Linked DNA regions of Homo sapiens: all the other regions are linked to region 1. Evidence: promoter capture Hi-C in 16 types of primary human blood cells and fetal thymus (Javierre and others, 2016). All regions are on one chromosome and are shown on one strand. Each heading gives the region's core, a stretch centred on a gene start or on the middle of the fragment in contact. The rest is flanking DNA. Distances are from core to core; before and after follow the strand shown.

Region 1 (3,469 bases), core at 504-3,003:
TCTGGACTGTTCCCTGGGCTTTTGGAGTGGTGGCTGGACCTGGTGGGGAGATTTTGTGCTCTGACAGTAGAGCAGCCTCCAGGGATCAGGGTAGGAGACAGGAGACAGTGTCTGGAGCAGACACTGCATCTGGGCGTCAGGTCATTTGGGGTCTGGGGCTGGGGGATGGGAGGTGGTGGGTTAGGGGAGTGGAAAGGGATTCTGGAAACCAGGGATCAAGGCGCCAAGGGTGGGACAGGATCAGAGGCTCACTGAGGAAGAATCTGGAGGGCTAAGGGGCTCCTAGGCTAGGGAAACAGGACCTGGGTTGGGCTTTTGAGGTTCAGGAAAGGATGCAGCTTTAGGGAACCAGGTCTGAGAGGTAAAGAAGAGCATCTGGACTGAAGAGTTTGGGGGTGACTTGGGGTCCCTACATTGGGGTTGGAAGGGGCCAGCTTGGCTGGGACAGTTAGATTTCAGGGCTTCCTGGTTAAAGGGTAAAAGAAAGGGCTATGGTTAAGGCTAGAGGTGGGCTTCCGAGAGGTTTTGGGGTCCTTCCTGTGAACCAGGAATGGCAATCTGAGGGGAGGTTGGGGCCCTGAGAACACAGTTGCGGTCAGGACTGGGACGGGGCTCAGGAGGAGGGAGGCGTGAGTGGCAGTCCTTCTCGGACAGGGTGAAGGATGGGATCTTCGTTTCTCATGGGGATGGGGTTCATGGTCTGAGGGTACTGGAAGGATATGGGGTCCTCTTGGAGGCAATCCTAGGAAGAGGATTGGAGAAGTGGTGAGAACAGGCGCCAAGCAGCTGTGGGAATGCAATGCAGGACCCACTTGACGTGAGGTTGTAGAATCACATACTGACTTGGGGGAGGCCAGGGCAGAAGCGCTGGCTGAGAAGGCATTCAGGATCCTTGGGGTGGGGTTCCAGAAAACCAGAGCTGTGTAGGAACAATTCAGGCAGAGAAGGGCTGGGGCCTGGGGCGGGATGGAACTTCCCCAAGGAAAGGAGCATGTGGTGGGAGGGTGTGGTGTTTTTCCTGGGAGAGCTGGGGGTGCTGGGTGGGAAGGGACATTTGCAGACCCCCCCCCATACCAGATGGGGGATCCCACATGCCAGTTTGGGAAGCAGGGTTTTCTGGTGAAATTTGGGGGACCCTGGAAGGACTGGGGAGACCAGATGTCAGGGTCTGGAGGACACAGTTGAGAGCGGACAGCTGGATGGAAAAAGTCACTGGAGTGTGGTGGGATTTGTAGACTCAGGAGCCAAATAGGTGGCCGCAGGGAACTAGGGGGCAGGAGGGGATGATCAGAGTCCTGTGGGGTGGGGGAAGCCCATGGGAGGGTTGGGGTCCTCCAGAGAGAGACAGAGATGGCCCAGAATCTGCCCCTTTGGTAAAGCGGTGGGACAGGGCGTTGGCTAGGGAAGAGGAGAAAGTACTGAGGCTTCCTGGGAGGAGCAGGAATCTGGTGTGGGAGTGAGCACTATGACAACATGGAGGAGCGGGGGTGGAAGTTTAGGGTGGGGCCGCGCAAGATAGATAAGAGCCGGGGCACCCCGGACTAGGATAGACTGTGGGCCAGAGGGATGAGGGTGGGGTGTTGGAGGGGAAGGTCTTATCGGGGGGGGATGTGAGGCCAGCAAGAGAATCAGGGCCCGTTCCCCCTCCCACATCCCCCCACTGTCTCACCAGTCCCCCCCAGGGACAGGGCGAGGCACAGAACCAGGAACCACATGGTGACAGAGGTGTCCAGGGGCCAGCAGGTGGAGGAACTGGGGAACCTCCCTGGGGAGGCTTTTAAAAGCCCTTATCCCCTCAGAGCCCCACCCCTGCCCTGCTGGCACCCAGATGTTGGCCAAGGCCCTTCCCCTGTTGCCTGGGGGCTGGACAATTGCCCCCCCCCCCTCCGATCCCCAGAGCTGTAGACGGGGAGGGAGAACCAGCACCTGTTCTGCAGGCCCTGGATCACGCTGGACGCATTCCTGGGGTTGAAGCCAGGTGGGGCAGGGCCTGTGGCTCTGGGGCTTTGCTCTGGGGAGCAGCCAGTGAGGCAAGGGGGGACTGAGGGGAAGCAGAAACAGGAAGACGGAGGAATCAGTGACCCCTGGTACAAAGCCCCATATACCTCAGTCTCAATTAAGGCCCTGCACCCCCAGACCTGGTGCCCTCAAACACCAGCAGTTAGGGCTCTGATTCCCTGCACCACTCGGAGCCAAGATACTAGCATCTCAGCTGCCAGTTCCCCCTGAAATATAAGCCTTGGCCTTCAGAATGCCCTGGTTCTTGCACTCCCAGACCCAGGACCTAGGTCCCCAAAGCTACTGTTCCTTTCATAATAAAATTTTGGGGTACACATCACCACATTCCTAGTGCCTCCAGATCCAGGAATGTGAAGTTTCAGGGGTCTCCCAGGGTAAGTTCTTTAGCATTACAAAATCCAGTGTCCCTCCCAAACAATGCTGGGGTCTCAATGAGCCTCCCACTTCTTGCTCCCAGTTATGGGTGCTCAACGTCCTGTCCTCCAAAGTCCCAGAGATCTGGACAACCTTCCCTCCCAGGTCAAGATCAGGCTAACCACAGATTCCAATGACCCTTCCCCCCCACCACCAGTACAATATTTAGGTCTCACGAGCCAGGTTCATGTACTTCAACATTCAGCGACCTTGAACATCACATTTTGTGGTCTCTGAAGATAATTAGGAACTAGATTCCTGCAGCCTCAATGGTAAACCCATAGGCTTCCAACAGGTTGTCTTGGCTTTTTGGTAAAATCAAAGCAGCTCAGAGTTCCAGCCTCTGCTGTATATCAGGGACCTGGCTAAGGAAAGGACAGTATTTGCCTTTTTGCCATGGCTACCAGGAAGCCCAGAACTAAATCTTTTTTTTTTTTTTTTTTTTTCTGAGATGGAGTCTTGCTCTGTCACCAGGCTGGAGTGCAGTGGCGCGATCTCGGCTCACTGCAACTCCTGCCTCCTAAGTTCAAGCGATCCTCCCACATCACCCTCCCAAGTAGCTAGGATTACAGTCGTGTGCCACCACGCCCGGCTAAATTTTTTTAGTATTTTTAGTAGAGATGGGGTTTCACCATGTTGGCCAGGCTGGTCTTGCACTCCTGACCTCAAGTGAGCCGCCCGCCTTGGCCTCCCAAAGTGCTGGGATTACAGGTGTGAGCCACCATGCCCGGCCCAGAACTAAACCTTAAAGAAAAAGCCATTCTTGGTAATCTAGTGTCTGTTAGGTCCTTTAACTGGGATCCAGAGATAGAGGGTATTTACTCAGTGCCAGACACGATTTTAATCAGTTCAGACGAATCATCTCATTTAATCCTCACAACAGCCCTTTGAAGTCAGCAATAAGATGGTCTCATTTTACAGATAAGGAAACCAAGGCGAAGTGAGATTGGGCCTCTTGTTCAAGATCACACGGGTGGTCATGTGTGTTGAATGAATGGAGCCCTGCTTCAAGCCGCTTCTCCTCACCTAGGGATCG
Region 2 (3,469 bases), core at 333-2,832, 490 kb before region 1:
CCCCAACAACCCCCCCCCCACTCCCACCCCTACTTCACCATCCACTGAGCCACTTAGCATAGACACTTGGGAAGTATCTTTGCTTCCTCCCACCACTCTCTGGCATGTCACTTAAGAAGCCCAGTCCCCTCTGTCCTGGATACGCTCTAGCTACCTGCTTCCCATCCTCAGGCCGCAGTGTTCGCCATGGAATTGCCATCATCTTCCCCAGGACACACCCACCAGAGACTGGGACCTCACCTCCCCAGCCAGCAAGGGGATTCCCCCAATGGCTGCATGCAGGGCCCGGATCTCCTCAGTGGGTCCTACGATGACAGGTGTGCCTGTATCCAGGATGGCAGCACAGCCCTGGGCACAGAGAGTCAGCCGTGAGCCCACCTTCACACTGAGGGGGAAGGAAGCAGTCATTAGAGGCAGGGTCCTAGGAGTCCAGGCCTCCAGCTCCAGACCCAGGAGACCAAGTCCCTCACCGCTCCATGTGGATCTGCCAGTAGGCGGGGACTGTGACTGGCACGAAGGTGAGGGGTGGGATGTAGTGTGCCGGGTCTGAGCCCCCCAGGACCAGCTCTCCTCCATCAGCCACTTCAGGGTCCCTGCAGGGGCAGAGTGTAGAGGTCATTGTCGCCAGCCCTCCCCCGCCAGCCCTAGGAATGGCCAGGGATGGGACTTCCTGCCAATTGGGTCATTTTTGGGGTTCTAGTTGGGGCAGTGGAATGCAGGCAGGGCCGAGATGTTGGGACTGGAAACAAGAAATGAAGGGAAATGGTGCTTTTCTTGATGGAAGTTAGGACTTTAGGATGATGGATACTTCCTGAAGTGGAGAGGAGACTTCTTCATTTGGCTGTGGAAGGTAGAGCTTTTGGGGGAAATTCCTGAGCTGAATATCATAGTAACCAAGCAGACCAGTGGAGTCTCAGAATTGGCTCGAAGGTGTGACTTGTACAGGAGTGGGGTGGCTTCCTGGGAAGGTGCATAGACTTTCTGAATTGCCTGTTGTGGTATCTAGAAAGGTGTTAGACTTCCTGAGCTGGCTGAGAGTGATGGGAACGGGGATGGAAACTTCCTGGAAGATGTAAATGAGTGGGACCTACCGAGAGCTAGGTGGAACTTCTTGAGTGGGTTGGATGTCAGGGTAACTGAGTGGGCATTGGACTGTGTGTGATGGGCCCTGGGAGGGAAAGTGAAGACTTCTCGGGTGGTGGGTGGGACTTCTGAGCATAAGATTGACCTTCCTACCAGGTGGGTGGGGCTTCGTGAATTCAATCAGGCATTTCCTGACTTCTGGTCAGTGTTCTCAAATGGGATTTGAGCTTTATGGTGAAGAGAAGGTTCCTGAGTATTTGGTTGGGTGGGGCATAGAATTTCCTAGTTTGATTTTGAAACTCAGCATATTGAACTGTTGGTGAGTTTCTTTAATATGTCTTAAGTTGTCACTTAAGCTCTGGGGCTTATGAATAGGGTTGAGGTGTTTCTTCTGTTAGGTAGGTGGCTACTTCCTGAATGAAGGGTGGGATTGATTTTTTTTTTTTTTTTTTTTTTTTGGAGACGGTCTCTCTCTGTCACCCAGACTGGAGAGCAGTGGTGCGATCTCGGCTCACTGCAACCTCCACCTCCCGGATTCAAGCAATTCTCCTGCCTCAGCCTCTCAAGTAGCTGGGATTACAGGCATGTGCCACCGCACCCAGCTAATTTTTATAGTTTTAGTACAGATGGGGTTTCACCATGTTAGCCAGGCTGGTCTGGAACTCTTGACTTCAGGTGATCAATCTGCCTCAGCCTCCCAAATTGCTGGGATTACGGGCATGAGCCACCGTGCCTGAACTGGGACTTTCTTTATGGAGTAAGAGACTTCCTGAAGGAGGGCCTCACTTCCTTCTGAGGAATAGGACTCATAGATAGGTGCACCCTCCCCAGCACCTGTTGAAGTAAAAGGAGAAGACAGGCTTATCCAATAGCCCCTGCTCCACCAGTACATCCAGCGGGGGCCGAACTCCTTCCACAGACAGAATGGGAAAACCGAGGCCCAATATCCCATCGGGGCGGGAAACAGTGAAGACCAGGCTGGATTCCCACAGAGCTTCCCCGAAAATCACGGATGCACCCTTGATTCCACCAATCTAGGGGTAGATTGAGATGTGACCAGTTACTTTTGGGAGGACAATAACCACATGTCCTGAGGTCTCCCAAACCAAAGCATTAATCCCAGGTCTGGGGACATCTGGACCCAAGCCCCCAACTGCTTAGCAAACTTTGCCTCTGGACTTGAGAGAATTCCTATCCCTTCACCCAGGAACCCCTCCCCCTCCTTGAGAAGCCCCATCCATCGGCTCAGGAAGCCCCTGCACCTCAAGCCCCTCCCTAAGCCAGATGATCTTAGACAACAGGGTTCTCCCAGGCTCGAGGCTTCCTGGAGTCAAAGGCCACTCACAGTCAGCTTGTCCTCACTCAGGATTCCATCTACCCGCCCAGTTCCATACTGAATGGCAAACTTGGTCCCACTGGGCTTGAAGGAGCTGGAGGCATTGGGATTGAAGCGGTGGTGGAACCCTAGGTCAGAAGTCAGAGAGGTGTCACTGTGGGAGGGGAGCTTTCCGAATGCCTTCTGCCCCTTTAACCTTCTGACCTTTGAGGGTGTCAGAAAAGAACAGTTCCTCAAAAACCTTTGGGAAGCTGAGGCCCAGCCCCGCCTTCTCCCTTCACCCCCATTCAGCCTTATTCTCCCACATAGAAGCTCACAGCAGGGCACACTGAAGAAGTGGCATCTCCTGGACGGGACCCAGAGATTGGAGGAGCCAGTGTCAAAGGCAACAGTGAAGTTTTGTGGAGGCGTTCCCAGCCCAATTTCCCCAAAATACTGGGCCTGAGGAGGCAAAAGAAGAGACAGAGTCAATGAAGAGTTTGGCTCAAGGGCACAGGAGTGGGGGCTGTGTAGGGCTGTGACTCACATCCAGGAATTTGGAGAGAGGTACCGAGGCAGGCTTGTCCCCAGGGGATGGGGCCCCCAACTTGGGGAGCTCTGCTGGTTTTCCCCATCCCCTCAGTAGGTTCAGGGTCCTGCGTCCAGGGTGGACTTGACGAAGAGGGATCCTGTAGGGTATGAAGATGATGAGAATTAGGAAGCCGCCCTTCCTGGAGACCCTCTAAAATAGACTTACCCAAATGGAATATGATGACAAATTCAACATTTCCAAGGCGCTACAATAGGAGTCATTACCAGAAACCCTACAATAACAACCTCCGGGAAACCCTAGCACAGAAACCATGATGACAGATATCCCCAAAGACTTTACAGGAACAAACCATCCCAAACAGAACTTCCCAATGGTATCCAAGTCCTTAAAATAAGCCATTCCCAGGGAATTGACATTCTCAAAGTTTTCCCAAGACCCTAACATGAAATCTGACCTTTGCAGAAGCCCTCGGATGGTGGCCCTTGCATGCTTCAGTTCATGATGTTGGAGACTATTTC
Region 3 (3,469 bases), core at 494-2,993, 300 kb before region 1:
TGAACTCCTGACCTCGTGATCCACCCGCCTCAGCCTCCCAAAGTGCTGGGATTACAGGCGTGAGCCACCGTGCCCAGCCAATTTTGTATTTTTAGTAGAGACGGGGTTTCCCCATGTTGGCCAGACTGTTCTTGAACTCCCAATCTGAAGTGATCTGCCTGCCTTGGCCTCCCAAAGTGCTGGGAAATTACAGGCGTGAACCACCGTGCCCGGCCACTATACATAGTTTTAAAAATGAAAAAAATAAGGCTGGGCATGGTGGCTCACAGCAGTAATCCCAGCACTTTGGGAGGCCGAGGTGGGAGGATCACTTGAGCTCGGGAATTGAAGACAATCCTGGTCAACAAAGCAAGACCCCTGTCTCTACAGACAAATACGAAAATTAGCCCTGTGTGATGGCATGCACCTGTGGTCCCAGCTACTCAGAAGGCTAAGATGGGAGGATCGCCTGAGCCCAGGAGGCCAAGGCTGCAGTGAACTGTGATCGTGCCACTGAGCTCCAGCCTGCGTGACAGAGGGAGATCCCGTCCCCAAAATAAATAAATAAATATACAAAATGAAAATAGTAATACCAGCAACTAAGACACATTGAACACATCTTTGGTGCCAGACACTGTTCTAAACATTTTGTGGGTAATAACTCTTTTAATCCTCCAAACTGCCCTGTGAGATGGGCACTATTACCAGTCCTTATTCGATACCTGCAATTCCAAAATTCTTAAGGCCCTAACAATCAGATTTTTCCAAACTTTGACACCAAATCCCACTTGGTGGCAAAACCCGATCAGAACTCATGTGAAGCTATTTTATTTATTATTTATTTATTTATTTATTTATTTATTTATTTTGAGATGGAGTCTCGCTCTGTCGCCCAGCCTGGAGTGCAGAGGCGTGATCTCGGCTCACTGCAACCTCTGCCTGCCGGGTTCAAGTGATTCTCCTGCCTCAGCCTCACAAGTAGCTGGGATTACAGGCACGCATCAACACGCTTGGCTAATTTTTTGTATTTTTAGTAGAGACAGGGTTTTGCCATGTTGGCCAGGCTGGTCTCGAACTCCTGGCCTCAGGTGATCCACCCGCCTTGGCCTTCCAAAGTGCTGGGATTACCGGCGTGAGCCACCTCACCCAGCCACATGAAAGTAAAGCTTTTATTGATCCCACTCGTGACTATCCAAACATTTCATTCTAGAAATTCCCATGTTTCAAGACCACTAAGATATTATAAAACCTATACTATCTATTACTATGTTTCTAATATCGGAATGTCAAAACGCATCAGACCTCAAGAGTTTCACACGAAGGATGATGAATTAGGCCCAGGGAGGTGCAGTGACTTGCCCAAGGTCACACAGAAGTGGACAGCAGAGTTGGGACTGGATCCAGGCCCTCTGGTTCCAGAGTCCTGGCTCTTGACCTCTGACCCTGGCTGCCGCCTCTCAGGGCTGGAGCTGGGGTCCACGGGAGGGGCAGTGCTGGGTCAGAGCACGGGAGGCAGGAGCTCACAGGGTCCTCACTACTGATGACCACGCCGGGTGCACTGAGGCCCAGAAGGCCACACAGCCATTGGATCATATCTGCAAAGCCCAGATAGTGGTGTGTGCCAGGGAGAAGGGGACGGACACTGGGGGAATGCGGTGTTACAGTATTAACGGAGGAAACTGAGAACCTCAGATGCATCCTGTGTCATCACAAAGAAGCTGAAGAATTAGGTATCAGAGTATATGCACCAAAAGAAAAAAGAGAAAAAGAGGCCGGGCGTGGTGGCTCACACCTGTAATCCCAGCACTTAGGTAGGCCGAGGCGGGCAGATCAGTTGAGGTTGGGAGTTTGAGACCAGCCTGGCCAACATGATAAAACTCCGTCTCTGCTAAAAATACAAAAATTAGCCGGGGGTGGTGGGGGGTGCCTGTAATCCCAGTTACTCGGGAGACTGAGGCAAGAGGGAGGCGGAGGTTGCAGTGAGCCGAGATCGCGCCACTGCACTCTGGCCTGGGCAACACAGTGAGACTCCATCTTAAAAACAAAAAAGAGGCCGGGCATGGTGGCTCATGCCTGTAATCCTAGCACTCTGAGAGGCCAAGGCAGGTGGATCACCTGGGTCAGGATTTCGAGACCAGCTTGGCCAACATGGCGAAACCCCATCTCTACTAAAAATACAAAAAATTAGTCAGGCATGGTGGCAGGTGCCTGTAATCCCAGCTACTTGGGAGGCTGAGGCAGGAGAATCTCTTGAACCCGGGAGGCGGAGGTTGCAGTGAGCCAAGATCGCCCAGTTGCACTCCAGCCTGGGTGACAGAGTGAGACTCTGTCTAAAAAAAAAAAAAAACTGGAAGGACATACTCCAAGCTTTTCTTAGTAGTGAACTTTATCTGTTGGGAATTATGGACAATTTTTATTCTTGTGTGATATTTTTTCCTCAATGAGGAAAAATTACTTTTACAGTAAGCAGGAATAAAAACAAAACCAAACCCAGATATACCTGAGAGGCAAACAGCGTAAGAAATGGTAGAATCTGTGGCATAGGCAGAATCATAAAATAATAATAATGTATGTCGGTGCTGTCCAATAGAAATAGAATGTGAACACGTGTGTAATGTTTGTTTGGTTGTTTTGTTTTAAGACAGAGTCTTGCTGTGTCACCCAGGCTGGAGTGCAGTGGCGCAGTCTCGGCTCACTGCAGCCTTGACCGTCTGGGCTCAAGTGATCTGCTCGCCTCAGCCTCCTGAGTAGCTGGGACTACAGGCACGTGCCAGCACACCTGGCTAATTTTATTTTATTTTAATTTTTTGTAGAGATGGGGTCTCCCTATGTTGCCCAGGCTGGTCTCAAACTCCTGGCCTCAAGCGATCCTCCCGTCTCAGCCTCCCAAAGTGCTGGGATTATAGGTGTGAGCCACCACACCCAGCCCACATGTGTAATTTTAAATTTCCTAGAAGCCACATTGAAATAATAATAAAGAAAAAACCAAACAGGTGAAATCAACTTTACTAATATATTTATTTAGCTCAACAGGTCCAAAATACTCTCATTTGAACCTGTCATCAGATGCAAACTTGCGATTGAGCCATTTTACACTCTTTATGGTGGAGCTTCGAAATCCAAGGAAACCCAACATGTGTTTTACACCCAGGGCGTCCAGGGCACCTCTCAGTAGCAACGCATGCAGTCCCCGAGCCCAGCCAGCAGCCCCGATGCTGGCGGCTGCCCTGTGAGATGCTGCGGGTTTACTCGGTGCCCAGGGACGCTCTGTGGACACAGTCACCTTTTGTCCATCCAGCAGCCCTAAGAACAAGGACTGTGATCGCCCCGTTTTAGAAAGGAGGAAACAGGAGCCTAAAGAAGTGGCTTGCTCCATGGCAGAGCTGGGCAGGGCTGGCCGGAGCCTGCGCCCCTCCCCGTCTCGCTCGGCCACCTCACACCCACCCATCGCCGTTCCCCGTGGACAGACACGGAAACAGAGGTCACGGGT
Region 4 (3,469 bases), core at 286-2,785, 300 kb after region 1:
TGAGAGGCCTGACTGAGCCCCTCCTGCTCAAGACAGAACTCAGATGTGGACACCCAGCCCTGCAGAACAGATGCAGGACAACACTGTCAGCCATGGCTCAGCCCTTCTGACCATTGCAGTTGAGATGCTGCAACTTCCCAGGGAGCGACTGGGCAAACATGGGGGCCTGAGGTATTCACGGCAACGTGCACAGATGATAAAACTACCTAGAAAAGCATGGAGACCATTAGCGTTAAAGTGAGGCTGGGGCTGCTTCAGGAGGAAGTGGGGTGTGGCTGACAGGAAGTGGGGTAACAAAGAGGAGGTGTTGCGGCATCCCCAGTGTTCTGTTTCTCTAAGCATGTTCATATGTGTAAACCGCTGAGATTTTTTCTTGGGGGGAAGACATTTTTATCTATATGGCTTATATTTCTCCCAAAAATATTTCTAGAAAACTGACATCGGTCTAAGGAGGCTCCACCACACAGGATACTCCCAGTTCCTCCCAGCCCAGCCACACAGTTACAAAAAATCTTCTGCTGAATTCAGGTGCATGTTTCTTCTCCCATGAAATCCTGCCCATCGCGGAGGGTGCATGCCCCGGGGCTGGTGTCCTCACTCCACATCTCCTGTTCACCGGGACCCCTGGGAGCAGAGCTTGCAGAAGCAAAGCCCCAGGGCCAGCTGATCCCTCATGTTCTGGAGTAACCAGGGAAGTGTGGCTGAGCGAGACATCGGTGGTGAAGAAACCCTTCGTGGTGCAGTGAGGAAAGGAGAAATATCTTCCCTTTTGAAATCTGCCCCTTTTCTTCCGAATTTCCTCCCTTCCAAGCCCCACAGTACAACAGTCACAGCCTCAGTTTCCCAGACCTCCTGCGAGCCAGGCTCCCCTCTGTGTCCTTGGCGTGTATCAACACATAGAATCCTCACCTCCACAGCCCCATGTCCCTCTGCTCAGTCCTCCTGAGATTGAACCCCTGACCTACGGGAGAGTGACCCCATCCTGCCTGTGCCCCCCAACTGAAGCTCCTGCCGTGGACAGCTCAGACGTCAGGAGCCTCCATGTCTCCCCTCCGCACAGTGACCCCTTGGGGACAGTGTCCAGCTCTGCTGTGTTGACCTCGTTGTGCAGAAAGGGGGTGCCCACCTCGTGCTTGCTTGGGGGGGATGAGAGGCTGCCTGCTCACCCCACCTGCACCCCCATCTCTCATGGCCCCAAGTCCCACCTCTGAGCTACGCAGATATCCACAGCCTCTGACTCAGGGGTCTGGCCAGATGGGACTCATTTTCACCCTGCAGAAAATGTCACCTAAGGGGAAGGGCATTGAGAGGGAGGCAGGAGGTGGGGTGGGCCCTGCATGGGGTGGGAATCTGGGTGAGTCTGTCTCCCGCTCTGGCCTCAGGGACCCAGGAGTGAACATGGGGTGGTGGACGGTGGATCTCCCAGGGCTGACCCGGGCCTGACAGTGTCTGGGTGTAAAGTTCCTCCTCTGAGGAGGTCACTGTTCCGACCTCGCCCCTGTCTTCCTGTAGGGCCTCCTCTAAGTCTTGAGCCCGCAGTTCCTGAGAGAAGAACCCTGAGGAACAGACGTTCCCTCGCGGCCCTGGCACCTCTAACCCCAGACATGCTGCTGCTGCTGCTGCCCCTGCTCTGGGGGAGGGAGAGGGCGGAAGGACAGACAAGTAAACTGCTGACGATGCAGAGTTCCGTGACGGTGCAGGAAGGCCTGTGTGTCCATGTGCCCTGCTCCTTCTCCTACCCCTCGCATGGCTGGATTTACCCTGGCCCAGTAGTTCATGGCTACTGGTTCCGGGAAGGGGCCAATACAGACCAGGATGCTCCAGTGGCCACAAACAACCCAGCTCGGGCAGTGTGGGAGGAGACTCGGGACCGATTCCACCTCCTTGGGGACCCACATACCAAGAATTGCACCCTGAGCATCAGAGATGCCAGAAGAAGTGATGCGGGGAGATACTTCTTTCGTATGGAGAAAGGAAGTATAAAATGGAATTATAAACATCACCGGCTCTCTGTGAATGTGACAGGTAAGGCACAGGCTCCAGGAAAGGCCACAGGGAAAGGTCATGGGGGCGGCAGGGAAAGGCTGGGATGGAGCCCCTGCCCCAGGAGAGGGCTTAGGGTGAAGCGAGTTGGCTCAGGGCAGGAGCTGGACCAGAGCCTGAGCTCCCCCCAGGGCTGCACCATGGATCCTCTGACCTGATCCTGAGTCCCCCTCTCTTCACCAGCCTTGACCCACAGGCCCAACATCCTCATCCCAGGCACCCTGGAGTCCGGCTGCCCCCAGAATCTGACCTGCTCTGTGCCCTGGGCCTGTGAGCAGGGGACACCCCCTATGATCTCCTGGATAGGGACCTCCGTGTCCCCCCTGGACCCCTCCACCACCCGCTCCTCGGTGCTCACCCTCATCCCACAGCCCCAGGACCATGGCACCAGCCTCACCTGTCAGGTGACCTTCCCTGGGGCCAGCGTGACCACGAACAAGACCGTCCATCTCAACGTGTCCTGTGAGTGCTGGGCCGGGACGCCTGGGTCCCTGATGGGGTGAGCGTCAAGCCTGGACACTGGGTGCTGGGTCCCGGAATCTGGGCTGGTGGTGGGGTCAGGAGGACACTGGCTCTGCCTTCCCTGTTTATGCGGCTCCTGGGGACAGACAGGGCCAGTGTCCCCAGCCCTCACAGTGATGCGGGTCTCCATGTCTTTCTGTCCCAGACCCGCCTCAGAACTTGACCATGACTGTCTTCCAAGGAGACGGCACAGGTAGGATGGAGCTCCCTCCCTGGGGCTGGAGGAGCAGGGCCTTCAGGTCAGGATGGGGCTGGCTTATTCCTCAACCTGGACTCACTTTGGCAAACAGGGATGTCCTTGTGGGTGAACTCAGGGCCCCTCTGTATCCTTAGGCCCCAAGGCCACTTGTTCCCATCCTCCCATCACCTCCCTTGGACTCCCCCACACACCCCCCCCTCAGCCTCAAACAAGAAGAGGGTGGCATTCACACAGCAGGACCAGGCTTTGAGGCTCCTTCTCATGTATCTCCTGAATACATCTCCACCCTTATCTGTTTATTTCTGATAGTTCTGATCTAAGTACTTCTGGACAGGTGATAAATGTCCATGGGCAAAAATTCAAATTGCAGAGCAAAGGCTCTCCTCCGATGCCTGCCCCCCTCCCCAGAACCAACCACTGTCCATCCAGGCTGCCCTGAGTCTCGGTTTGTACACCTGGAGGATCTCAGAGGTGGTTTGACGTCCGTAGTGAGACTGTCCGCACCCTCCTCTAGGGCTGTGTGTGAGTCCACTGCATGGATGGACTCTGATTTTGTGGCATCTCCTAATGGAAGATCACGGCACTAATTTCATCCTACGGCAGGATAGAACAATCTTGTATCTACTTCCACAGGAATATCTAAGCCTGTGGGTTAAGTTCCTAAAAGCAAAATGTAGCTACATTATATGTTCTTTCTTATTTTGA

What was found. The method cuts DNA at HindIII sites, captures the fragments that hold promoters and counts their contacts. A CHiCAGO score of 5 or more calls a contact.
Region 2: a contact is called between a fragment that was not itself captured here and the fragment with the promoter of KLK1 in region 1, in 1 of 17 cell types (naive CD8 T cells). The highest score is 5.1, in naive CD8 T cells.
Region 3: a fragment that was not itself captured here is called in contact with the fragment with the promoter of KLK1 in region 1 in 1 of 17 cell types (total CD8 T cells); the score reaches 5.1 in total CD8 T cells.
Region 4: a contact is called between the fragment with the promoter of SIGLEC9 here and the fragment with the promoter of KLK1 in region 1, in 3 of 17 cell types (naive CD8 T cells, fetal thymus and activated CD4 T cells). The highest score is 6.9, in naive CD8 T cells.

Annotation. Positions count from the first base shown.
Region 1 is chr19:50,822,034-50,825,502 of GRCh38, forward strand. KLK1 (kallikrein 1) reads right to left here and starts at 1,754. Exons shown (of 5, transcript NM_002257.4): 1 at 1,670-1,754. The coding sequence starts at 1,715. KLK15 (kallikrein related peptidase 15) reads right to left here. Exons shown (of 6, transcript NM_017509.4): 6 at 3,256-3,469. The HindIII fragment of the contact is 16,614 bases long and covers 1-3,469 here.
Region 2 is chr19:50,334,589-50,338,057 of GRCh38, forward strand. LOC105372437 (a long non-coding RNA gene) reads left to right here. Exons shown (of 4, transcript XR_007067299.1): 2 at 3,414-3,469. It also overlaps the pseudogene NAPSB. Among named protein-coding and RNA genes, the nearest start is that of KCNC3, 6.9 kb to the left of the region's middle. The HindIII fragment of the contact is 4,846 bases long and covers 1-3,469 here.
Region 3 is chr19:50,521,647-50,525,115 of GRCh38, forward strand. The region is part of intron 2 of LRRC4B (leucine rich repeat containing 4B); the gene reads right to left. All of the region lies in intron 1 of LOC124904747 (a long non-coding RNA gene), which reads left to right. Among named protein-coding and RNA genes, the nearest start is that of ASPDH, 9.5 kb to the left of the region's middle. The HindIII fragment of the contact is 1,201 bases long and covers 1,144-2,344 here.
Region 4 is chr19:51,123,371-51,126,839 of GRCh38, forward strand. It overlaps SIGLEC9 (sialic acid binding Ig like lectin 9), which reads left to right and starts at 1,536. Exons shown (of 7, transcript NM_014441.3): 1 at 1,536-2,025; 2 at 2,227-2,505; 3 at 2,711-2,758. The coding sequence starts at 1,605. The HindIII fragment of the contact is 17,590 bases long and covers 1-3,469 here.